3 separate regions of the Homo sapiens genome follow, and regions 1 and 3 are each linked to region 2. The links are contacts of gene promoters, found by promoter capture Hi-C in human tissues and cell types (Jung and others, 2019). All regions are on one chromosome and are shown on one strand. Each heading gives the region's core, a stretch centred on a gene start or on the middle of the fragment in contact. The rest is flanking DNA. Distances are from core to core; before and after follow the strand shown. Region 1 overlaps FUT9 (fucosyltransferase 9). Region 2 holds the start of UFL1 (UFM1 specific ligase 1). Region 3 overlaps LOC107986626 (a long non-coding RNA gene).

Region 1 (2,700 bases), core at 15-2,514, 370 kb after region 2:
ATCACTCCTTCATTCTGAATTCTAATGTCATTTTACCTGAAACAGACACCATTTAGTATAGCACACCAGTATAACACCATACTACTGACACCATTTTCTCTTTTTGTATTCTATTCTTGGACATGACTTATCCGTCCTAAGAGAATCAAGACCCAGGTAGGCAGAGTTTATCTTTTGCTCTAGAAGTATAATTATTACAAATTATAGAGAATAGAATGATGGTTACCACAGGCTGGGAAGGGTAATGGAGAAGGGGGGTAAAGAGGGGAGGGTTAATGAGTATGAAAATACAATTAGATAGAGTAAAATCTAGTGTTTGGTGGCACAATAGGGTGACTATAGTTAACAATAACTTATTGTATATTTCAAAATAACTAAAAGAGTGGAATTGAAATGTTCCTAACACAAAGAAATGATAAAAGCTTAAGGTGATGGATACCTCAATTACCCTGATTTGATCATTACACACTGTATACTGTATCCAAACATCACATATACATAAATATGTACAACTATTATATATCTACAATAATTATAAATAAAACAATTTTTAAAAATTCAGGCAAAGAAATGCTTGCTTTTGATGGAATGCACAGATATATTTTTTCTCACAGTGTTCATGCTTCAATAAGGTTTATTCTCAGCTCTGCTGACAATTACAAATAATTGAGTTTTGTTTGATGCTGATAATATACACACTCCTGATCTAAGGCAATGGGAGTTCTGTGATTTAGTGAAATTGCAGTACTTCTCTAGAAGGGTTATACTGAGAAAACATTTGTTTCAGGTTTTAAAATTATTCACTCATTTGGGCTAAAAGGGATGGAGGAATGAATTTTAAGTTAATATTTTCATTTTATCCCCATAATGTTCCATTGTAGTTTCTAATAGAGACTTTTTTTTTTGTCTGCCTTAAACTTGGTTACATGTCATCTAAATTAGTAATCATGTTCTTCATTTAAAAAAAATGCTCTCTGGTGATAGAAGAATTAAATTTAATTCAACAAAATTGCATGGAATACTGACTCTGTACATAATAAAAGCAGTCTATTATTTTCAAGTAGTTCAAAAAAAATTTTTTTTTTTTTGGAGTCTCACTGTGTTGCCCAGGCTGCGGTACAGTGGCAGAATCTTGGCTCACGGCTCACTGCAACCTCCACTTCCCGAGTTCAAGCAGTTCTCCTGCCTCAGCCTCCTGAGTAGCTGGGATTACAGGCACATGGCACCACACCTGGCTAATTTTTGTATTTTTAGTTAGAGACAAGGTTTCACCATATTGGCCAAGCTGGTCTCGAACTCCTGACCTCAGGTGATCTGCCCACCTCTGCCTCCCAAAGTGCTGGGATTGCAAATGTGAACCACTGTGCCTGGCCTCAAGTAGTTAAAAGTCTAACAGCCCACATTTTAAGCCAGGGTCACATAAGACTAGTTAGAGAACATTTTGCTGGGATTTCTGCGCATGTACAGACTCAGAATAAAGGCAATACATTTGGTTAAATGTTCATGTATCTACACTACTATAGGAGTGGCCACTTTTTAAAAATTTTACTGTCTTTTCAACCCTATTACAAAATACATACTCTCTGGAGTAATATAAACCTCAGGCAGTACAAAATTGTTACAACTTGGGCTTCTCCAGGGCCACTCCAGGCTTTGGAACATTTAAGTGTTTTGATAGGGTCAATGAAAGTATCAAGAACTCAGGAATCAATAGCCTTCAGAGCCCATTTCCACAGCTCGACTGATTATACCATGTAATTTTTACTGAAAGCGAAACTGTAAATTTGAAAAAGCCAGCAATCTGAATCTGTTTTGATGCATTACAGAGTACTCCCTCATTTTAATTATCCACCTTAATGGAGAAACTTGCTTGATGATTAAATTCCCCAGAGCTACGTGGAGCTGTTAGAATCAAATAGTTGTGGAGATAGGAGGGACTTTGGCAATCTTTCTAGACCCAATTTCCTATTCTGTAGGTTGGAATCTGAGACCCTGAGTGCTAATTACTCAAGATCATTTAATCAGCTAGAACTTAGATTTTTACATTCCAAGCTTAGTGATAAGTCTATTGCACTAAACTGTTGGAAAGACTTTTAGTCACCATCAGCTTTGTGAGATATTTGGTGTGTTAGAAAGCGTTTTTAAGGAAGGACTGGACTTCAATTAATTGCACATGGGCTGCCCAGTTTCAATATTTTTTTTTTCTTTCCAACATAAAAGTTGCTTTTAAAGTCTTTGCTTTGTAGTGTTTCTAAAACTAATTTTCGCTTCGGTACTCTTTATCCCATGTTCGGTGGTTCTTTTACCTTTATCTCTGATGCAGAAACATATCAAATGCACTTTTTTTTCTGAAATATTAACTATATCGTAGTCCCAGATCATCTTTTATCTAGTGTGGCTGTGATATATTCAAAGAACTCCTGCAGATTATTTATGCAAGCCTGAATCCGTCATGGCTGGATGTCATCAACTGATGTGTTAGCACTCTGTATGAGATTTTTTGAAAAACTCCTAGGGTCTTCATCATTCAATTAGCACAGAAAGGATGAAGAGTTAAGAAATCTTCACTCTAGATCCTACTAGTGGCAAATGTTCACATTGCTTCTAGATATATGAAGAAGACTTACTTCTCTCTTTGGGTTTAATAACTACAGTTATAAGTATCCTGAAGCTTAAGTTTTCTCAGAAAACACACCAAGC
Region 2 (2,700 bases), core at 111-2,610:
TGCAGTTCCGCTCGGACAACCTGAGGGAAAGAAAAAAAGTTGTTTCAAAAGTCCACTTGAGACATTGGCGCTCAATAAAATTAATACAATGTATGAAAACAGGCTTTTAAAAAGTTTGTTTAGTCACTAACTTCTACATCACAATATCTGTATTTTTCACTAACTGATTCAATAAGTTAAAAAAAAACCTTTCAGAGTAAGTAGGTTTACATATGCTTAAATCATTTATTTAATTGGTACACATCATCCCATCACAAATTTCAAGTCTGTTGTCTCTTACAGGCCTGCTTCCAATCTTCAAATCTGAAGGGAAAATTGAAGACATTTATTTAGGTAGGAAAAAAGAAAAAACAAAACAAAACAAAACAAAAAATGCCCTAATTTCCAGTTTAATCAGAATTTTCTTTTAAATTAAGTGCATAATTGCCTCACTTACACACATGGTCTGCAAGCAGGCAGGGGATGTGGCCTAGTGAAACCATAACTTTTACCCACGTTAGTTACCCATGCAGTTACGAGTTTGCTATCAGTGGTAGAAAATACAGCATAAGGGGATTGCTGTCTTCCGGCTCAAAAGGAATAAAACATCGCAGGTAGGAAGTAGTCAAAGAATAGAAAGGCTTCTATTAGCGTTATTTTTAAAAAGCAGAGTTAGGCTCCTCTGGACACATCCTCCAAAGGTTAGTGGGCTTGTAGAAAATGTCAGTGCCCTGAATAACAGATGGGGTCAGGGGTCTAGCCCTAGGTCTGTTACGAGAGATAAAAGGGCAAGAAGTTTTAAGGATCAACATACTATTTGCCAAGTACTGTACTGGGGGCGGGGGTTAGCCTCTCCTTTCGAGCTCATTCTAGATCAGGAAGTGTATAATAGCCAAGATGTCACAGTGATTTGGTGGTTGGTGGGTGAGGGAGGGTCAAAGAAATGCTCAATAAAGGCAGCTCGAAATCACCGGCCCCGTCCATGGTGGGGCGGGGCGCGCCAGCATTTCGCTGCAGCTGGGCTGGGGGGCTCCAGGGCGTCCTAGGCTGAGGACTTTCCCGCCGAGCCTTGGACTTGGAACTGCGATCCAGGCTCGGGACAGAGGGAGGAGGAGAGAATGGTGACAAGCAGCGAGAAGACCCGGGATGCAGGGCCGCGGGTCTAAAGTCCCAGATACAGGCGTGTCCGCCCACGGCCTAATTTGGGCTCCACAAAGGAGAGGGAGGGTCGGGCACCTCTGCGTGGCCTCGGCGAACTGCGCCCGCTGGAAGTCGGCCGCCAACCGCCTAATCTCTTCCCAGGCGTCCGCCATCACGGCCTGACTCGCAGTAGACGCGGAGGAACTGCAGACACGTCAGCCGACAGGCGGTGGGAGAAGAGAGGCGGAACGGGCCGCGCAGAGGGACAAGAGGCTCCGCCCCCGACGCAGACACACCAAACGCTTGCGCCCGAGGCGCGGGGGGCGGGCGGAAGTGCCGTGGTTGTACCGCGGCGCTGGGGGTTCCTCCCGGCGAGACTGGCGGGGCTGCGGCGGCTAGGAGAGTGGTGCGTAGGTGTTTCTGGGGGGGTCGTGGGCAGGATGCAGGGCTCAGTAAAGTTTAGTGTCAGAACTTTGTTTGCGCTACCCCTAATATTTCCGTAGAGTAATAGTTGTATTAACTACTTTTCTTTTTTCTTCTGTCCTCCATTTGTTTTGGGGGAGGGTGCGGAGGAATAAGCCTGTGTCTAAGATTGGCGCCTCTCTTCTCTAGCTGTTAACTCTGAGCATTCCCTTTTGTATAGGGTATCGTGTTAATTTTTACATGCACCCAGAGCAGTCTGCCTTTTGGAAGATACATGGGAGACCCTACCGAAAGTAATTACTTTTTTTTTACAGAGTGAATAAATTTGCGTGTCATAAAGGCTGTATAATTGCTTTCGTGTCTAGAGTTCTAGAGTCTTTCGTATTTCTCTTATTGCAATGATTAACTTCATCAAATAATGAGGAATATAAACATAAGGTGCATGGCTATCAAGGAAACAGGGAAAGCAAAGAGAACATGTATCCTGCTTCCCTGTTGAGTAGATATTTACTCAGGTGTACCTTTCTTTTTTATATCTTTTTTATATCTTATGAATTGAAAATAAATCATGGGACCCCCAAATCACTAAGCTAAAGGGAAAAGTCATACTGGGAACTGCTTAGGGAATCCTGCCTCCCATTCTATTCAAAGTCACCCCTCTGCTCACTGAGATAAATGCATGTCTGATTGCCTCATTTGGAGAGGCTCATAAGAGAATGCAACTGTCTGTTATCTACCTATGACTTGGAACTTCCTCCCCACTTGGAGTTGCCCCGCTTTTCCAGATCAGACCAATGTTTATCTTACATATATTGATTGCTGCCCCATGTCTCCCTAAAATGTGTAAAACCAAGCTGTGCCCCAGCCACCTTGGGCGCATGTTGTCAGGATCTGTGCCATGTCATGGATGCAAGTTCTTAACTTTGGCTAAATAAACTTTCTGAGTTGATTGTGACCTGTCTCAGATATTTGGAGTTCATGTATCTCACTCTTTACTATTTAAAAAATATTATTCCAGTTAGAAAGAATGAATAATATCAAGTATTTGATAGCACAGCAGGGTGACTAGTTGTCAGAGGCGTTTGAACTAGAGCAACTCCATCTTGAATAGGGGCTGGGTAAAATAAGGCTGAAACCTACTGGGCTGCATTCCCAGGA
Region 3 (2,700 bases), core at 6-2,505, 510 kb after region 2:
ACTTGGGAAGGGATGATGAGAGACAATAGGAGCTGGTGACACATAGCTGGGGGAACTCAGAAAAGAAGTGAGGAAAAAAAATACCTTCACGAATTAAGACTATAAATGGAAGAATTACAAGATAAAATGGACACTGAGATAGACACAGCAAGGAAAAGAAGAGACAGAAATAAGGAAGGCTAACAAAATGAAATGCAAGTAAAGAAAAAATAGACAGGATTAGAGAGAATACAAAAGATGGAGAAGATAGGGAATGGTAATCCAATAGATACATAATTAGAGAAAAGAAATAAGTGATGGGAAAATAAATATGTCAATATATTATTAAAGAAAGAAACATTCTTCAAATGAAAGATGACTTGATATTTCACTTTGAAAAGAAACAATGATTACCAGGAAAAATTGCCCCAGAATCATTGACATTGAGATGTGTCCTAGTACAGTAACTAGAATTTAAATTTAAAAAAGAATTTTTTTAGGCATGCAGGCAAAGCAATCAGTAGCTTATAAAGAAAAATACTGATACTGGCCTCAGAAGTCTTCACTGCAACTTTAGTGGAATCGAGCCATTCAATATCAGTGCAACAAAGCTTACAAGAAACCAAAGAAAATAAAATAAAACTAAGGTTTTCTTTTTCTTTTTAGCTAAATGGTTTTTCAAGTACAATGGGAATAGACAAACAATGGTGAAGATGCAAGAACTCAGGGACTATTATTCTTATGAAACCACCTTCAGGAAATCACTAGAATAATGAATGAAATTCAGCTTTCTAATAAATAAATAAAAGAGACATGCTGAATCAAGGACTGATTTTCAAGTTAATACATTCAGTGTATTTATCTACTGATCTACAATGTTAGAATATGAGAATTAAAGCAGTATAATGCAATATAAACCTTATAGGAAAAATAGACTCTGACAATATAAAAATGATATGAGATATAATGGCATCAATTGTCTAATGGCTGAGAGTCCAACAAAACCACTTAAAAGAACAAATAAGTAGCATGACATTTAGCAACACAAAGATGAAATTTAATCCAAATTATTTGATAAATTATCTAGTCAAGCAGGAAGGCATGGAGGAATAAGAAACACTAATTTTTATCATTACCTACTTTAACAAACTAACAGAAACATTTCTTACTTTAACTAAAATATAGAGCAATGCAGATAAATAATTACAAAAGTAACACAGAACAAAATGAAAATCTTTGTAAATATTAAGAATACATATATACGCTGGGCGTGGTAGCTAACACCTGTAATTCTAGCACTTTTGGAGGCTGAGGCGGGCAGATCGTTTGAGCCCAGGAGTTTGAGACTAGCCTGGTGACATGGTGAAGCCCTAACTCTACAAAAAAACACAAAAATTAGCCGTGCGTGGTGGCACACTCCTGTAGTCCCAGCTACTTCGAGGGGCTGAGGCAGGAGGATAGCTTGAGCCTGGGAGATTAAGGCTGCAGTGAGCCATGATTCACTTAACTTCAACCTGAGTGACAAAGCAAGACCTTGTCTCAAACACACACACACACACACACACACACACACACAGAAAAAATAAAACAGAACACAAAATGAAGGAGTTTTACAAAATAACAAGTGAAAACATAACACAATATGTCAGAACCAAAAGTAAGTATTTCCATTATATCAATAAATGTAAATAATCTCCTGTTTTATAGACAAAAATAAAGATTTTTATACTTTATCACTGAAAATAGAGTTCTGTGTTTTATATCTACCGCAAGAAAACTCAGAACACTTAAAAAATAAAAAGATGAACAAACATTTATCAGGGAAATGGAAACAAAGAGTAAGCAGGCGTTGCAATCTTAGTCAGAGATAAGGTGGCATAAAGCCTAAAACATGTTAAACAAGATAAAGAAGGATATTTTAAGGTGATCACAGAACAGACACCTTGCTATGAAAACAAAGCAATTATGAACATCTGTGTAGAAGATTATATATCACCAGCATTCCTACAGCAGCAATTATAAGATATTCAAGGAGCTAGCATGAAGCCCACCATTGATAAGTCTTAATACTTTATAAAATATAAGTAAAGTTTTGAATATTAAATGTCAATACACTTTTCAGGCCAATCTCACTTAACAGCGTCAGTGCAAAAATCCTAATTAAAATATTAACAAATGAACCTCAATAGCACATTACTGTATCAACACTAAGTGTATTTTTCTTTTTTTCCAAAAAGGTAGGAATGTTACTGTATTAGAAAATCTATTAACATACTTAGTCACTTCCCTTATCTATAAAATGGAAGTGCAATATTAGTATCTACTTTATAGGATCATTTTTTCAATGATTAAAAGAGTCATTGCATACCAAATCTTTAGGAAGAATGCCTGGCATAGAGTGAGTCTTTCATAAATGTTATCTGTTGTGTTTATCAGCATTCATAAGATGACTATGCTTGTGATAGTAATATAAGTCTTCTTATCATTTTCTTAAATAATAAACTTCTTATGTTAATTTATTAATATTGTATTCTCATCTTTTATCCCTTCTCCTTGGGGTTTTTATTATTGCTCTTTTAGGCCCTCTGTTCTTTTGTATTATCTTTAACATCCTACAAAAATTAAAATCAATTTGTAAATTCAGAGAATACCTAAGACCAACCACTTATTTTAAAATAATTTCAAATAATAATAGTAATATATGAGTGCACTACTTCTGTT

Evidence for each region. Contacts are between HindIII fragments. The study calls those that stand out against the background at their distance.
Region 1: a fragment that was not itself captured here is called in contact with the fragment with the promoter of UFL1 in region 2 in 2 of the 25 tissues and cell types used here (dorsolateral prefrontal cortex and hippocampus).
Region 3: a fragment that was not itself captured here is called in contact with the fragment with the promoter of UFL1 in region 2 in 2 of the 25 tissues and cell types used here (dorsolateral prefrontal cortex and hippocampus).

The regions. Positions count from the first base shown.
Region 1 is chr6:96,147,546-96,150,245 of GRCh38, reverse strand. All of the region lies in intron 2 of FUT9 (fucosyltransferase 9), which reads right to left. Among named protein-coding and RNA genes, the nearest start is that of FUT9, 130 kb to the right of the region's middle. The HindIII fragment of the contact is 3,489 bases long and covers 1-2,700 here.
Region 2 is chr6:96,520,466-96,523,165 of GRCh38, reverse strand. UFL1 (UFM1 specific ligase 1) reads right to left here and starts at 1,360. Exons shown (of 19, transcript NM_015323.5): 1 at 1,216-1,360; 2 at 1-20. The coding sequence starts at 1,292. It overlaps UFL1-AS1 (UFL1 antisense RNA 1), which reads left to right and starts at 1,452. Exons shown (of 4, transcript XR_007059687.1): 1 at 1,452-2,700. RefSeq lists enhancers at 28-899, 1,566-1,755, 900-1,771, 1,772-2,643, 2,644-2,700. The HindIII fragment of the contact is 7,421 bases long and covers 1-2,700 here.
Region 3 is chr6:96,009,166-96,011,865 of GRCh38, reverse strand. The region is part of intron 1 of LOC107986626 (a long non-coding RNA gene); the gene reads left to right. Among named protein-coding and RNA genes, the nearest start is that of FUT9, 5.5 kb to the left of the region's middle. The HindIII fragment of the contact is 8,220 bases long and covers 1-2,700 here.